4 separate regions of the Homo sapiens genome follow, and regions 1, 3 and 4 are each linked to region 2. Evidence: promoter capture Hi-C in human tissues and cell types (Jung and others, 2019). All regions are on one chromosome and are shown on one strand. Each heading gives the region's core, a stretch centred on a gene start or on the middle of the fragment in contact. The rest is flanking DNA. Distances are from core to core; before and after follow the strand shown. Region 1 overlaps GRIK1 (glutamate ionotropic receptor kainate type subunit 1). Region 2 holds the start of CCT8 (chaperonin containing TCP1 subunit 8). Region 3 overlaps GRIK1 (glutamate ionotropic receptor kainate type subunit 1). Region 4 overlaps GRIK1 (glutamate ionotropic receptor kainate type subunit 1).

Region 1 (3,774 bases), core at 52-2,551, 720 kb before region 2:
CTTATTATCAGGTTGGATCAATGCAAGACAGACAGCCAAGTATATTATAAAAGACAGTAGATAGAAAGGATCTTTAATAAATAAAGTCAATTTCTTCCAGTCGGTATTCAGGACTCATCATGTTGAGTAGATGCCACCTATTCTCTATAATTTGTTTTAGAAGTACTCTGGGGACTTACATATGAGTACAAAACAAAAGAAGAAAACATACTCATTGGGACTAAAAACCAACAAACTGAAAAACAGACTTTATTTGTTTTTCATCACTGAAGAAAGAGCTGAATTTCATGAAGAGTGTAGGATGCAGTATCTACTCAGAGGAGGCAATAATAAAGGGATGATTGGGCATTGCAGGAGGAAACCTCATCTAGTGGGAGAAAACGTTGTACTTTTTTGATAAAAGAAATCTAGGCGGGACATTGTTAAAGAAAAATGACAAGCTCAGGCATTGTGTTGCTCTTCATGTAGAACTCTACAACTTTTAAATGGAACTGTTCTTTTCAAGGTGATCAAAAATTAGTGAAGAATTTTGCCTACTATCCTTGCAAATTCAACATTTTTATTATATTGACAAATGCAACTAATTACATATATGTCATAGATTAACTATAAATAAATTACGAGGCTGTGTGATGGAATTATTTTGTCCAGGCAGGAATTTGTGAATGGGTGAAAACTGAGAGGGTGCATATATAATACACAGCTTCCCCGTATACATTGGCTTCAATGTCTCTACATCTCTCCACTCCAGGAATAGATTTGTAGTATAATCAACTAGAAACAGAAGCCAAATATCACTGTTCATGGCAGCCTGTCACATCAGGAATTCATTTGTACACATGACAACTCCTCCATCTCAGAACCGTGGGTGAGAAAGGCCTGATTGGCAGCAATTATTCTCTGGCCACTGATGCTTTCTGCGTGGCTTCCTCAGACCTTCCTCCCATGCACAAAGACATAAAGTATACCAGAAACATTTTTCACACAGGCTTAAGAAAATGATTGCAGCCTTTCCCCACATAGTACAAAAGGTCAGTGTATCTCTGAGCTTCATTCCTCTTTTTTTTGCAGGTAAGGACACTGTCTTGCTGGCAGCTTGATAGCCGCTACCTGATTTCCTGATAATAGGAAAGTTTCACCTTCTGCTATGGCTATTTAAAATGTTTACTTTTGTACTAACGCATTAGAAACCAACTAAATTCTGTGGGTTTTTCTTTTTTTTTTTTCTGTTGTTTGTTTGTTTGTTTGCTTTTGAGACAGAGTCTCCCTCTGTCACCCAGGCTGGAGGGCAGTGGTGTGATCTCAGCTCACTGAAACCTCTTCCTCCCCAGTTCAAGTGATTCTCCTACTTCAGCTTCTCGAGTAGCTGGGATAACAGACATGCACCACCACACCCAACTAGTTTTTGTATTTTTAGTAGAGATGGGGTTTCACCATGTTGGCCAGGCTGGTCTCGAACTTTTGGCCTCAAGTGATCTGCTCACCTCGGCCTCCCAAAGTGCTGGGATTACAGGTGTGAGCTACCTCACCCATCCCAAATTCTGTTTTAATGTTGGTTTAGATGTAGCTTTGTTAACTATGTATAATAATGGAAACCAAGAAAAAAACAGATACGCTGCACTTCTTATAATAGAGATCAGATCAATTGCTGAGTGCCTAAAGTTACAAAATAGCTTACATAATATTTTATATGATACGCAATAGAATATATAATGTATAATATATTATACAGATATAATTTCTGTAATTAAAATTATATAATCTCAATGGTGAAAATTAACAATTAAAATATAACAATAAACTTGACCTGTATCAGTTATCATTAAATTGATTGGGGCAGTTTAGGTCTTTCTCCAAATTTTACTTTGGTCTCCATTCATTAAATGGACATTAACTAGGGACTTCAAAGACCCAAGAACCACACTCAGCCTTGGGGATAGAATGAAGACTAAGAGATGATGACTGCTGTCAGCATTAATTTCTTCCACATTATTTAGCCCACTAAGAATGAGATATAATTCAAATTTCTGAAACTTGTAGATGTGTGGACACATTTTCATAAACTTTCTTAATAAATAGGCCTGCAATGACAAAATGCACACAAAATTTTGAATATGTAATAACTGAGTCCTATCCTTTATTTCAAGAGACAAAGCTAAGAATTAGAAACATAAACAAATTGTGTCCATCTTAAGGGTGATAATGTACAAATGTGGCCATTTCCAGTAGTCATGGAGTAGGCAAATGAATTGAAGAAGTATGATTTTGACAACCCTGGACAGCATTAGAAGCTCATTGTCCAAATATGAGACAAGTTAGACAGACTTACAAGCAGAAAAAAAGAAAAAGTTGATAGCCTCACTATCAAAAGAAAAGATTCATGATATGCAACTCTCTTGCTAGCAAGTAAAAAAGAGGAAATACATTAAATTATTAGAAAATGTTAAAAGTAATGAGCCTTTATCTGTTCACAGAGTCATCAAAAGTTATTTCTGTGTAGGAAGTGTCAAGTAGCATGGATAAAGAGTATTCGGGAAATTCTTTAGTTGTGGTCTTGAAGACTGTTGAAATTATTAGCATCTGAGAAACTATTATAAAAAAAGTTTACATTAATTCAGGTGGAGCAATATGGGGCAATAGGATAAGAAAGGAGTAATAATATTGGTCTAATGTGTGGAGAAAATGAGAATACTTGATGAAGATATCACAGGTTACCCAGAGAGGCTTGAAGACCAGCTGCTGGGAGATCAGGAACCTGAGCAGCAAGGATAGCTCAAAGGGAAGTCATTTTACATGGTGTGAACTGGTGTAAAAGATCAGGGAAAAATAGAAATCATAGATAATTAACCAATCTTAAAATAGAGCAGACTGGGCACGGTGGCTCATGCCTGTAATCCTAGCATTTTCAGAGGCCAAGGCAGGCGGAACACCTGAGGTCAAGAATTCAAGACCAGCCTGGCCAACATGGTGAAACCCCATCTCTACTAAAAATACAAAAATTAGCCGGGCGTGGTGGCAGGTGCCTGTAATCCCAGCTACTGAGGAGGCTGAGGCAGGACAATCACTTGAACCTGGGAGGCAGAGGTTGCAGTGAGCCAAGATTGCACCACTGCACTCCAGCCTGGGTGACAGAGGGAGACTCCATCTCAAAAAAAAAAAAAAAAAAAAAAAAATTTAGAGCAAAGCATCAGGAAGCTTGGGAGCTTCCTGAGTGACAGCCAGGGTGACCTTACATTCTGTTTGCCCAGGACATCTCTGATTTACATCTGTTTTACCAGCACTCAAAAATGCTGTCATTTGGGATGATAAATTATATGATCATACTTCCAGGAGAGTAAATGGAGTGAATGAAGAGGAAGCCTCTTTCACTAGTTGTCTCTGGACAAAATCCCAGTTGGAATTATTACCAATAATGAGTTAGTTACTCAGAGACATATTTCTATTTCCCCAACTTTCTCTTTACCATGAAAAACAAACTGTACAATAACACAAAAGCCCAAGAAACCCAACTACATTATTCTGTACCTGGAAAAATCAGTACATAAAAAGAAAACAGTTTCTAACACATAATATATGCAACTGCCTAGGTACTATTCAGAAAGCAGGTCCCATGTACTGGTTAACTCACAGATCCACAAGGAACGAGGTACATTTTGCTTCCATTTACTTTTAACCATGATGATGATGTTTCATAGCTTGACAATTATAGAACTATAATAGCTGACTGTAAACCCAAAGTAACTTCCTCAAGTAGTATTTTAAGGTTGTGAAAAT
Region 2 (3,282 bases), core at 493-2,992:
CTGATCATTACAGTAGTTCTCTAACGTATCAGTCTCAGAACACCTTTAGACTCTTAAAAATTAACTTCCCCAAAGGTCTTTTGTTTATGTGGGTTATAGGTATGAATATTTGCTATATTAGAAATTAAAACTGATAAATTTTTAACGTTATTTAAAAAATAATAATCCTATCACATGATAATATGTATGTTTTTATTTAAAATATCTCTATTTTCCAAGAATGAAAAGGGTGGCTGTATTAGTCCGTTCTCGAATCGCTATAAAGAACTACCTGAGACTGGGTAATTTATAAAGAAAAGAGGTTTAATTGGCTCACAGTTCCACAGGCGGTACAGGAAGCATGGCTGGGGAAGCCTCAGGAAGCTGACAATCAAGGTGGAAGGTGAAGGGGAAGCAGACACATCCTACAAGGCTGGAGGAGGAGGAAGAGACAGAGTGGGGAGGTGCCACACACTTTTAAACAACCAGGTCTTATGAGAAGTCACTCACTATCACAAGAACAGCTGGGGATTATAATTCCACATCATATTTGGGCAGGCAATTCAAACATATCAGTGGCATTTACATTTTTGCAAAAATCCAAACCATATCAGTGGCATTTACATTTTTGCAATTTTTTTTTTTTTTTGAGACAGGGCCTCACTCTTGCCCAGGCTGGAGTGCAGTGGCATGATCTCAGCTCACTGCTGCCTCAACCTCCCAGGCTCAAGCAGATCCTCCAACCTTAGCCTCCCAAGCAGCTGAGACTACAGGTGCATGCCACCAAGCCAAAGGGATTTATATTTATCTATAAATTCATATATAAATCAGATATATTTATATAAAATGTGTATATTATATATATAAATCAGATAAATAAATATGTATTTATATCTGATCTTAAAAGAGTAAAAGGGATTTATATTCCCAGGAAGAAGTAGAAAAGAGGAATATAGATAGTGGTTAAGAACCGGCATTTTGCAATAAGTCTGATCTAGATAGGAATTCTAGCTTTAATATTTACTAGCTCTGTGATCTTGGGAAAATTATTTACAGTTTGTGAACTTCAGTTTCCCTTCTACAAAATAGAGACAGTACCATTTAATTTTTAATTTTTAATGGTATCGTCTCCATTTTATGGAAGGAAAACTAAATGGTATTTTAACCGACAATTCATTAATTTTTAAGACTGACCATTAACAGAGATACTGCATGTAAAGCAGATCACACAGAATATGGCACACTTGAGCACTTGATGTGTACTACATTACTCTTAGTGACGACTTTAATTATCGTGCGCATTCCCAGCGCTTCCTATGGTGCCCAACACAGAGCGGACGCCTAGAGACAATTTTGGGGGATGGGGCAGATGCTCTGCCTCGGGAAAAAAAAAGCACACCTGCCCTGACGTTGGTGGCTGGGTCTGGAAGATACGTGGAAATTAAGCTAAGGATGTGTGGCTTCCAGATCAAAAACCGCAAAAATCTAACGCCGTGACTACTGACTACGGTCAGAGAGCACAGACTGGAGCAACCTCTCACGGCCTGGGCTGTCTGCGCGTGCGTGAGCCAGAAACCCGAGGGGCTCCCTGGGCCCGCCCTATCGATCGACCCGATCGGGGATCGTCAGCTTGGTTCTGGCCACAGAGGTTGCTCTTCTCGCGATGCTTCAGACCTGGCGGCAGGGAAAGGGTGGGCTAATTGGAGAGCCAGGAAGAGCGTGAGGCGGCCCCACGCTGCTTTCCCAGAAGGCTGTGCGTGCTCCTCGCTTCCTCCGCGGTCTTCCGAGCGGTCGCGTGAACTGCTTCCTGCAGGCTGGCCATGGCGCTTCACGTTCCCAAGGCTCCGGGCTTTGCCCAGATGCTCAAGGAGGGAGCGAAAGTAAGGGCTGAAGGAAAGGAATGAGGTGGGAGCGTCAGCATAGGGCTGCGGCGGCCGCGGCGAAGTAGGAGGGCCTACTAACGGGCTGAGCGTGCTGCCCTGGCTCAGCGGCCGGGGGAAGAGAAGATTCCAGAAAGGGAGGTGATTTTGGAAGGGCTCGGCCACCGGAGCCTGCGGGCACTTCTCTTCTTCCGCGACCGGGAGAAGGCCGAGGGATCGGCGGCACGATCGACATTGTACACCTTGAAGGTGGACGGATGTGAAGCCGCGCGTGCGTTTTGCCTCCATCCGTAAATGGGGCTAAGGCCCGTCACCCTTAAAGGAGGTTGTGAGGGTGAAATTGAATAACGTAGATGAAATTGTCTTGAGAACTGCGACGTCGATTATCACATAGCTCGCGAGTTGTAGGATGGGGAAGAACGAGAACTAGCCGATCCAGAGAAGAGAGTGGGAAAAAGGGCCGGGTCTTGGTTGCTTGCTTCCCAGTGAGAAACATACGGCTTTCAGCTTAGTTGACAGAAGCCATGCGTTGTAGCCAAATGAGTTCCGGTCCCAACTTATGTTAGCTGGCTTAATCTAAAATGTAACTTTCTTGGGTTTTGTTTCCTTCGTCTTTAAATTATGGAGATTGGACCAAGAGGTGGTGTCTTTGAGTTCTGTGTAATCTGCAGGATAAGTGATAGAGGGGTGCAGATAACACTTTTGTTTAATGGCCTTTTCTTGAACGTTAGTTCGGTAGCATAGTTTTAAAAAATATCTTACTGCACTATTGATAAATTTGTCTCTTGTGCTATTCAAATTGCATTCCTCTGTGTGTCCTCCAGATTTTGTTAATTCAAGAAATAGATCAGTGTGGTTGAATTTAAGGTTTTATGCGAGGTACGGGGAGCATTAACAGTTTAATAGAACTAGGTTCATGTTTGTAGGATGCACTTTTCAAATAATGTCGGTATAGTAAGTAAATGTCAGGGTTCAAGGTAAATGTTGGTGGAATAATCTTTTGAAAATGATATGGGCTGATTCCCTTGAAAAAATCAGGCTGAGATAATAGCTTCCAATTTGGGTTTTTTTCACTAATACAGTTTTGGAAAACTCGTGTATCACAAAACATTATTTGTCATTCCAGTGCTAGTAGTTTTTTACAGAACACTGAGCTATTTCTTTCAATAAATAGGTACTGAAGGAACTGCAGTGAAAGACAAAAGTCCCATTTGTCGTAGAGTTTATGTCCTTCTAAGGCAGAAATAATGATTAAATAAAAGGAGAATTCCAAATAATGATGAAAGAAACTGCACTATAGTAGAGGATGACAGGAGGTAAAAATGTCTGTAAAAGAAGGATCAGGAATAGACAGAACACTTAGACGTTTAGGGAAGAACTCTTAGCTCAGTGCTTAGTGAGAGAAGCCCCTGAGCCTGGGCTG
Region 3 (3,656 bases), core at 819-3,318, 810 kb before region 2:
TTTCCTCTGAATTAGCTAAGACAGCTAGACTAACAATGGTTCTAATGGGAAAGATAAAGAAGACCAAATGGTGGAGAAGCAGCAATTTAAACGTTTAATTCTGATTTTCCTGTTTATATCAGTTATAAATTTAGATAATTGGAGGTATTCAAAGGAGAACAGCTCTGAATGCTTTTGATGGTTTATGGAAGGTCATTCACCTCCTAAGTTTTATTGCTTAACATGAGATGGCACAGCAGTCCTCCTTGTTAGAAAAATGTTGCTGACAGTGATGGGCATTTACAGCAGGCAGTCATCAGTACATTAACTCATGTAATCATTGATGCTATGATAGAAATTTTGGCAGTATTTGTCACTCATTCTACCTTTTCATTAATGTTTCCTTTGAAGCAAGTTTTCTAAGACAATATCTTTCACTAAAATTCTAAATGGCAAATAGGTGCTGTATTTAATCAAGGGCTAAATTCTATTCCTTCACTCCCACCAATTCTATATCACAAGATTTTTTTGCAGATCTCTAGGAAGGAATTTATTTTTCTTACGTTAAGAAAAAATAATTCCATCCATCTGAGTCCCACTGTAAACCAACTACAGCTAGGTCAGGGTTGTGGTATGAGAAGAGAACTTTTAATATGCCTATATTTAGTTAAAAACCATCTAGCAAAGGCTTAGAAGAAGAAGTTGAAGACTATTTAACCATACAACGTCCATTGCCCTGACATGAAACTCTGACATACATATGAACATTCATGAAAGCAAATCCACGGTCAACACAATAAATACCCTGATTTGATCATTATACAATATATGTATGTATTGAAACATCACATTATCACATTTTTGCTCAATAAATATGCATAATTACAATGTGTCCATTAAAAAGTAGTTTTTAAAATGCAGCTCATTCTCATTTACTCAAGGAGACCTAAAATATGGAGATTTTTCCAATAATGAAAATAATATTGAAATGTTTCATTTGGGATTAGAATCTTTTATGGAACAGTTTTGAGCAACATCGTCACCAAGTGAACCAGTATCTGTGTGATTTGGGAACTTTTTCTGGATAGCTCTGTGGGTGAACACTGGATGTCTGTTGAAGATTCCCTTCCAGCAATTAAGTAATCATAACTTTATGCATGTAGCTATAGTGAGAGATTAAAATTAAGAGGTTTAGTGTCAGTTTTAACTAGTCAAGTTACTTAATTTCTAAATCTCCGTTGTCTCGTCTTGAAGGTGGAGATAATAACTACTTTAAGTAAAGCATGTAGCACAATAGCTGATAATCTATGTTTTCAGTTATTACTAGTAATGCAATGTAGCTCAGAAATCCACAAACTTTATCTGTTAGGTTAGAAACATTGGCACCCACTTTCATGTTTTCTTATGTTTTACGTCATCAAATGGCAAACTGAGAGATGAACATGGCCATCAAGTAACTCTCTCCCTGACTTAGTAATTTCCTTTCTGTTTCCCTGTCCATAATACAAAGAGTCGGGGGTGGGAGTAGAGGGACGAAAGTCCTCATATGGAAAAAAATACAACCAACCTGTTCTTCCTCTTGACCATACTTAGAGAAATGGTAAGTAGACTCTGGTTAATTCAAAAACATTTTACGATAGGATAGTAAAATGAGATTTGTTTTAAAAATTACTCTGGAAAAAGGATTTATAATGGACAAATGTATATATTTAGAAGATTAGACCATATCTTGGCATCTGGCTTTGTGAACCATACATGTTGGAAAACTTAACCCTCTGCCTGTTCTTTCAACTTCCATTAAATATAATATGTTTGCTCATAGCAGCTTATCGAACAGTGATATGGGCAGGTAACAGAACCATACTACAAAGAAAAATTATTTAACAGTAGACAATGTGTTTCCCTGTATAAAATGGAGCAGCACATGGGAGTCAAGATTTCTGTCTACCTCCTTTCTTATCAATAGATTACATAAAGCATCCCCCCCTTCTTTTTAGGAAGAGTCAGAGTGGAAAAGGACTTCAATATCTCAGGCCTGAAGGAAACCTGTTGAAGCCTGTCGGGTTTTCTTTGATTGGTTTTCTCTTAGGTATTTTCTTTCTAATTATTCTGTGGTTTCACTGGTATTCACTGCAGAATATAGCTATTCTGTGCTGGGAGATTTTGAAATGTGTCTGTTCTAATTTTCTTGCAATGAGAAAAAAAAGAAAGTGGACTTTGAGAAAAAACACATAAATATTTTTAAATTTTAAACTATCATTGTAAACCAGTCTTTCCATTCCCATTCAGAATGTCACAGGATTATAGTCTGATTTCTTTATAACCTGATACCTGATAACACTGATGCCTTCCTGGGTGTCTTGAGTGTGTCTACAGAAGATCCTGATTTGGAAGGTCTAATAAGCTTTTATATTTCATTTTTATTTTTTCTATTTGGAAGGAAAATGTGCACCACTTGCTTTGTGGCAAACAGGGGACCTCAGAGGCTGATATTAAGAACTCTCTGCTTGTTAGTTATGACTTTCTTTCCTGAAACAACCAATAGTCAGTCTCGCTGAGTGACTTAATGAAGTAAAACCATTGCAAATCTATATACTTGAGAATTCTTTACTTGCTAAAGGTCAAATGTGAAGCCATTATTTTTATTTGACTCACCAGCCTCTATTGCACTTATTATCAGTTCTAATACTGTTTCATAGAACCACAAGAGTTTATAAAGTAAATTTAAATGGTTGCTGAAAGTTAGATAACTAGAAATATTTTGTAGAATATACAAATACATTTTCCTACTTCCCGATATCTGAAAACCACTAAATGGGTTAAGTTACCTTCCAAATATATTAAATACTGCTTCCAGATGAGCATGACATTGTTGAATTAGTATTGGATTGAGTCCCTCAGGTATTAGCAACAGACAAGCCACGATTCCATGAACACAGAACTATGTTAAAGCCTGAAGGAGGTAATGACTAAGGTTAAAGCTGGACTTCTGGTTTCAAGGACCTTGGGGGCTGGTTGGAAAGAAAAAGTAATTAGACATCAAGAAAGTAAAGCAAGTTGCAGCCCCTGGTTATTAGTATAAAAATAAATAAGGAAAAGAGAGCTCTGTATAGATCGTGGTAGATAGAGAATGCTTCATGGAGGAGGCCAATGTTCAGTTAAGACTTAAAGGATAAACAAGAATTTCATGTGTGGAGAAATAGAAACAAACTTTCCAGGCTCATTCAATTACTCATGCACTTTTGCCTAGCACTTATTTACCTAGGCCAGGGAATATGCATGTGAGATAATTCTCTGTTCCCAAGGACCCTCATTTCGGTTCTGTGAATTTGATAAGCTTTTTCCCTTTGTAAGTTCTTTGCGCATGATATTCCAACTACATTGCTTTGGATTCTTCCCCATCATGAGCTGCTTCTTCCAGGCGTCAAACCACACATTGGAGTGTCATTGTGAGAGCACAGAATTCAGAGGGAGACATCATGAGCAATTCTTACCCACCAGCCCTCCTTTCTTCCCACATTCTTCTCAATCGTGGAGTATTTCTACCACTAGAACCATTTCTTCAATGACAGAAGGAAAGGGAATAAACCAGAAGGAAATAGGCAATAGAAGGTTCTATATTAGTAAATGTTAAAACGTTTAAAAATACATTAAGTATGGGCCAAACTCTTTTAAAA
Region 4 (3,389 bases), core at 12-2,511, 570 kb before region 2:
TAAATGAAAGTGACCAACACCAGTATCCTTATCTGGAAATCACCTGTTAGTGATTGTAGCAGTTTCTTTCTACCAAATATAAACCAGTAAGTAGATAGATAAATAGATATAGACAAATGCTGAGAAACAAATCTGATATTGCAACTTTGAGCTTTAGTAGCTTCTAGCTCAAGGTAGTTGATCTTAACACCATGCTTAACATGGAGGACACTTCGCAAAATATTTGTTCCTTGAATCAAGTCTTTTGTGGCTGATCTGGGTTGCTTTATTTTTTTTTAAAGAACTTGAAACGAAGCAGAGTTATAACTTCAATTTACTCCAAAGTGTGAGGTATTATTTTGGAGAAAAATAGCTATTGGAGAGTGAAAACTACCTAGCTGAAGAGTAAATGGCCTTTGAGATCAGACAGATAAGAGCTATGGAAGCAGGGAGAGTGATTATGCAAGTAAAGGAAGGTAAGCAAAAGTGGAATTTAAGATGCGGTGTGTGTTTTCCTCCACAGACTGAAGCGGCTCTGATGTACGATGCTGTGTACATGGTGGCCATTGCCTCGCACCGGGCATCCCAGCTGACCGTCAGCTCCCTGCAGTGCCATAGACATAAGCCATGGCGCCTCGGACCCAGATTTATGAACCTGATCAAAGAGGCAAGTGATGCTCCCTCACAGCCCAGGGGCCCTTCTGAGCACTGTTGGGCTTGCCCATTTGGTATGGTCCTCCCCACAGGGTTCTGCTGGCATGATGCCCCTAAGAGAGAGGAAGCCATCATCAACCAGTCTGCTCAGATTTCAGTGTCAAAAGTTTGTCCAGAAGGACTAGCAGGAATTTTCCATTGTGATGCTGAGAAGTTCAGTGACGCTACCAGATACCAACACTTACTCTCCTTCATGCCAGCCATGGCCATAGCTCCTGCTGGCTCTCCACACATGTCCATAAGGGCATATGGGTGTTTCTTCCATGTCCCACTGAGTCAAGGGGAGAGTTGATCCATTACTGAAGGGTACCAGAGATAGTTCCAGCATTATCAGTCCACAATCCCAGTGGCCTCCTAAAGCTCAGGCTGTACAGGACTGAGTGGAAGGACCTCTTTAATTATATAGTGACTATTTTGTCATTTATCAGCTAACTGGAAAAGTTTATTCCCATTCAAAACCTACTGAGCACATAAAAGATTTTTGAGAGTATGGGGTATTTGCAGGGATAGATATCTTCACTGATGTCCTGGGATCCTGGACTGTCCTCCACCTTTTCTTTTCTCTGAGGCAGTTTGACTCCTTGTCACAAGGCCCTGTTCTAAGCCCCGTGACTCCTTATCGATATGTACACTGCATGATCATCCATTCCACCACGAACCTCAGGGTGTGTCTGGACTTGATGATAAGAAATAAGGCTCTTTGGAGTAGCTAGGCCTGAGTATGCGCAATGCTCTGAGATGCTATTCTAATATTTCTCTATGGGATACAGACATTTAGTTCTCAAGTGAAGAGTATTTTTTTCCTTTCTGTACTGGAGAAGGATGGAAATATAGTGTAAAGAAGAGGGAGGGCACAGGAGAATACCCAGCTAAGAGTAAGGAAAGACACCTGCTTTGGACTCGTGTCTCTGCTGGTCTCTTCCATGCCTGCACACCCTCTCTCAGTCTGTTCAATGCAACTAAAGGCTGACTCTGATCCATGAGGGTGAGGATAAAGCAGGCGGGATGTATAAGGATTAAGTACCTAGGCTACAAATCTAGGTTGCTTGCAAGCCCAGGATGAGGGTGCAATTTAAGGAAACATTCATTCTTGGGTGAGTATTCTATACTTGCACAAGATTAAGAGGAAATTCTCGCTTAAATTTTGTACCCTGAGCACCTCTCTTACTTTATCCTAGTCCTGGCAGTGACTGCATGGGTTTAAATCTTAGTTCCACTAACACTGATGAGCAATATAACCTGGGCAAGTCTATTGGTCCATTTTCATGCTGCTGATAAAGACATACCTGAGACTGGGTAATTTATAAAGAAAAAGAGGTTTAATGGACTCACAGTTCCACGTGGCTGAGGAGGCCTCACAATCATGGCGGAAAGTGAAAGGCATGTCTACATGGTGGCAGGCAAGAGAAAACTTGTGCAGGGAAAATCCCATTTATAAAACCATCAGATTTCATGAGACTTATTCGCTATCACGAGAACAGCATGGGAAGACTTGCCTCCATGATTCAATTACCTGCTACTGGGTCCCTCCCACAACACATGGGAATTGTGGGAGCTACAATTCGAGATGAGATTTGGGTGGGGACACACCAAAACCATATCAGCAAGTTACTTACACTTCTTGTCTCTCAGTTTTCTTATCTATAAGATGGGTATAGTATCATCTACCCCACAGCATGACTGTAAGGATAAAGAATTAGGCAAATGCTTGTGAAGAATAGTTCAGAAACCTAGTAAGCATCTGAAATACTATTCTCTTGCCATTGGAAGGCACCACTAAGAATAGCCTCATTCAGTTTACTGAAGATGATACCAGGAATTTCAAACTGGCAACAACAACAACAACAACAAAGACATCACAAATAGGCATGAAACAAAATACCTTTTCTGACAGCTACATAACTCTGACACACTGTGCCTAATAGAAAAACATCACACCACCTCCTTTTCCCTGCAGTGATCATGGTTGTGTCCTGAATCGCCATCCTGATTACCTTGATCTTTAACAAGAAAACAGCTGGTTTTCTTTTATCTCCTAGAAGTTCAAGGAGAGGCAGAAGTGACATGAAAGCTTGGGATCAAACACTCAAGAGCCCCCAAGACACCTTATCACTTGTACTTAAGTCGCATAAGAAGGTGAAATTACCAAGCCACATTTAGGCATATTTAAAGAAATAATGAGCTCCAAGATGAGGGACCACACTGAAAATAAGAAGGCATTTTATATTCATTCACTCCAAAGAAGCAAATCTCTCATTTTTAATCTCCACAGTTAGGGGTTACAGGAAGGGAGGGGGGAATGAATCAGAAACCATTGTCAACATTGTGCTCATCCTCTTTTGTCTCCTGAGTCAGGATGTCATATGCTACCTTTGGCAGGGTGTAGGTACCTACAGAGAAGATGGAATGGGGTAACCAGAAGCAATGCCTCAGCCTGCTGGAGGACTGGCACTGAGGAAATTCTGAGACAACCTAAAACATGCAAAAGAGAAAGTGCACGTGTTTTTTCAGATGAGTGCATAACTGAACAAAATTTTGCAAGTATCAGGTTTCATTAGGAAACATGAAATAAGGAACTTGGTCCCCAAATTTCCCCCGCTGCTTCTTTTTTTTTTTTAAGTTATTCTCACTTTGTAAAGAAGTTCCAAAACTAGAGTCAGAAAAAAAAAAATGAAAAGAAGCAAGTCAGCAGATTG

What was found. Contacts are between HindIII fragments. The study calls those that stand out against the background at their distance.
Region 1: a fragment that was not itself captured here is called in contact with the fragment with the promoter of CCT8 in region 2 in 2 of the 25 tissues and cell types used here (lymphoblastoid cells and mesenchymal stem cells).
Region 3: a fragment that was not itself captured here is called in contact with the fragment with the promoter of CCT8 in region 2 in 1 of the 25 tissues and cell types used here (dorsolateral prefrontal cortex).
Region 4: a fragment that was not itself captured here is called in contact with the fragment with the promoter of CCT8 in region 2 in 1 of the 25 tissues and cell types used here (lymphoblastoid cells).

What each region holds. Positions count from the first base shown.
Region 1 is chr21:29,794,428-29,798,201 of GRCh38, reverse strand. The region is part of intron 1 of GRIK1 (glutamate ionotropic receptor kainate type subunit 1); the gene reads left to right. Among named protein-coding and RNA genes, the nearest start is that of GRIK1-AS1, 48 kb to the right of the region's middle. The HindIII fragment of the contact is 4,800 bases long and covers 1-3,701 here.
Region 2 is chr21:29,072,108-29,075,389 of GRCh38, reverse strand. It overlaps CCT8 (chaperonin containing TCP1 subunit 8), which reads left to right and starts at 1,742. Exons shown (of 15, transcript NM_006585.4): 1 at 1,742-1,859. The coding sequence starts at 1,800. RefSeq lists enhancers at 1,517-1,686, 847-1,758, 2,137-2,306, 1,759-2,670. The HindIII fragment of the contact is 6,058 bases long and covers 1-3,282 here.
Region 3 is chr21:29,882,299-29,885,954 of GRCh38, reverse strand. All of the region lies in intron 1 of GRIK1 (glutamate ionotropic receptor kainate type subunit 1), which reads left to right. Among named protein-coding and RNA genes, the nearest start is that of GRIK1, 56 kb to the left of the region's middle. The HindIII fragment of the contact is 6,023 bases long and covers 1-3,656 here.
Region 4 is chr21:29,640,083-29,643,471 of GRCh38, reverse strand. It overlaps GRIK1 (glutamate ionotropic receptor kainate type subunit 1), which reads left to right. Exons shown (of 18, transcript NM_001330994.2): 7 at 503-646. Among named protein-coding and RNA genes, the nearest start is that of GRIK1-AS3, 16 kb to the left of the region's middle. The HindIII fragment of the contact is 4,786 bases long and covers 1-3,389 here.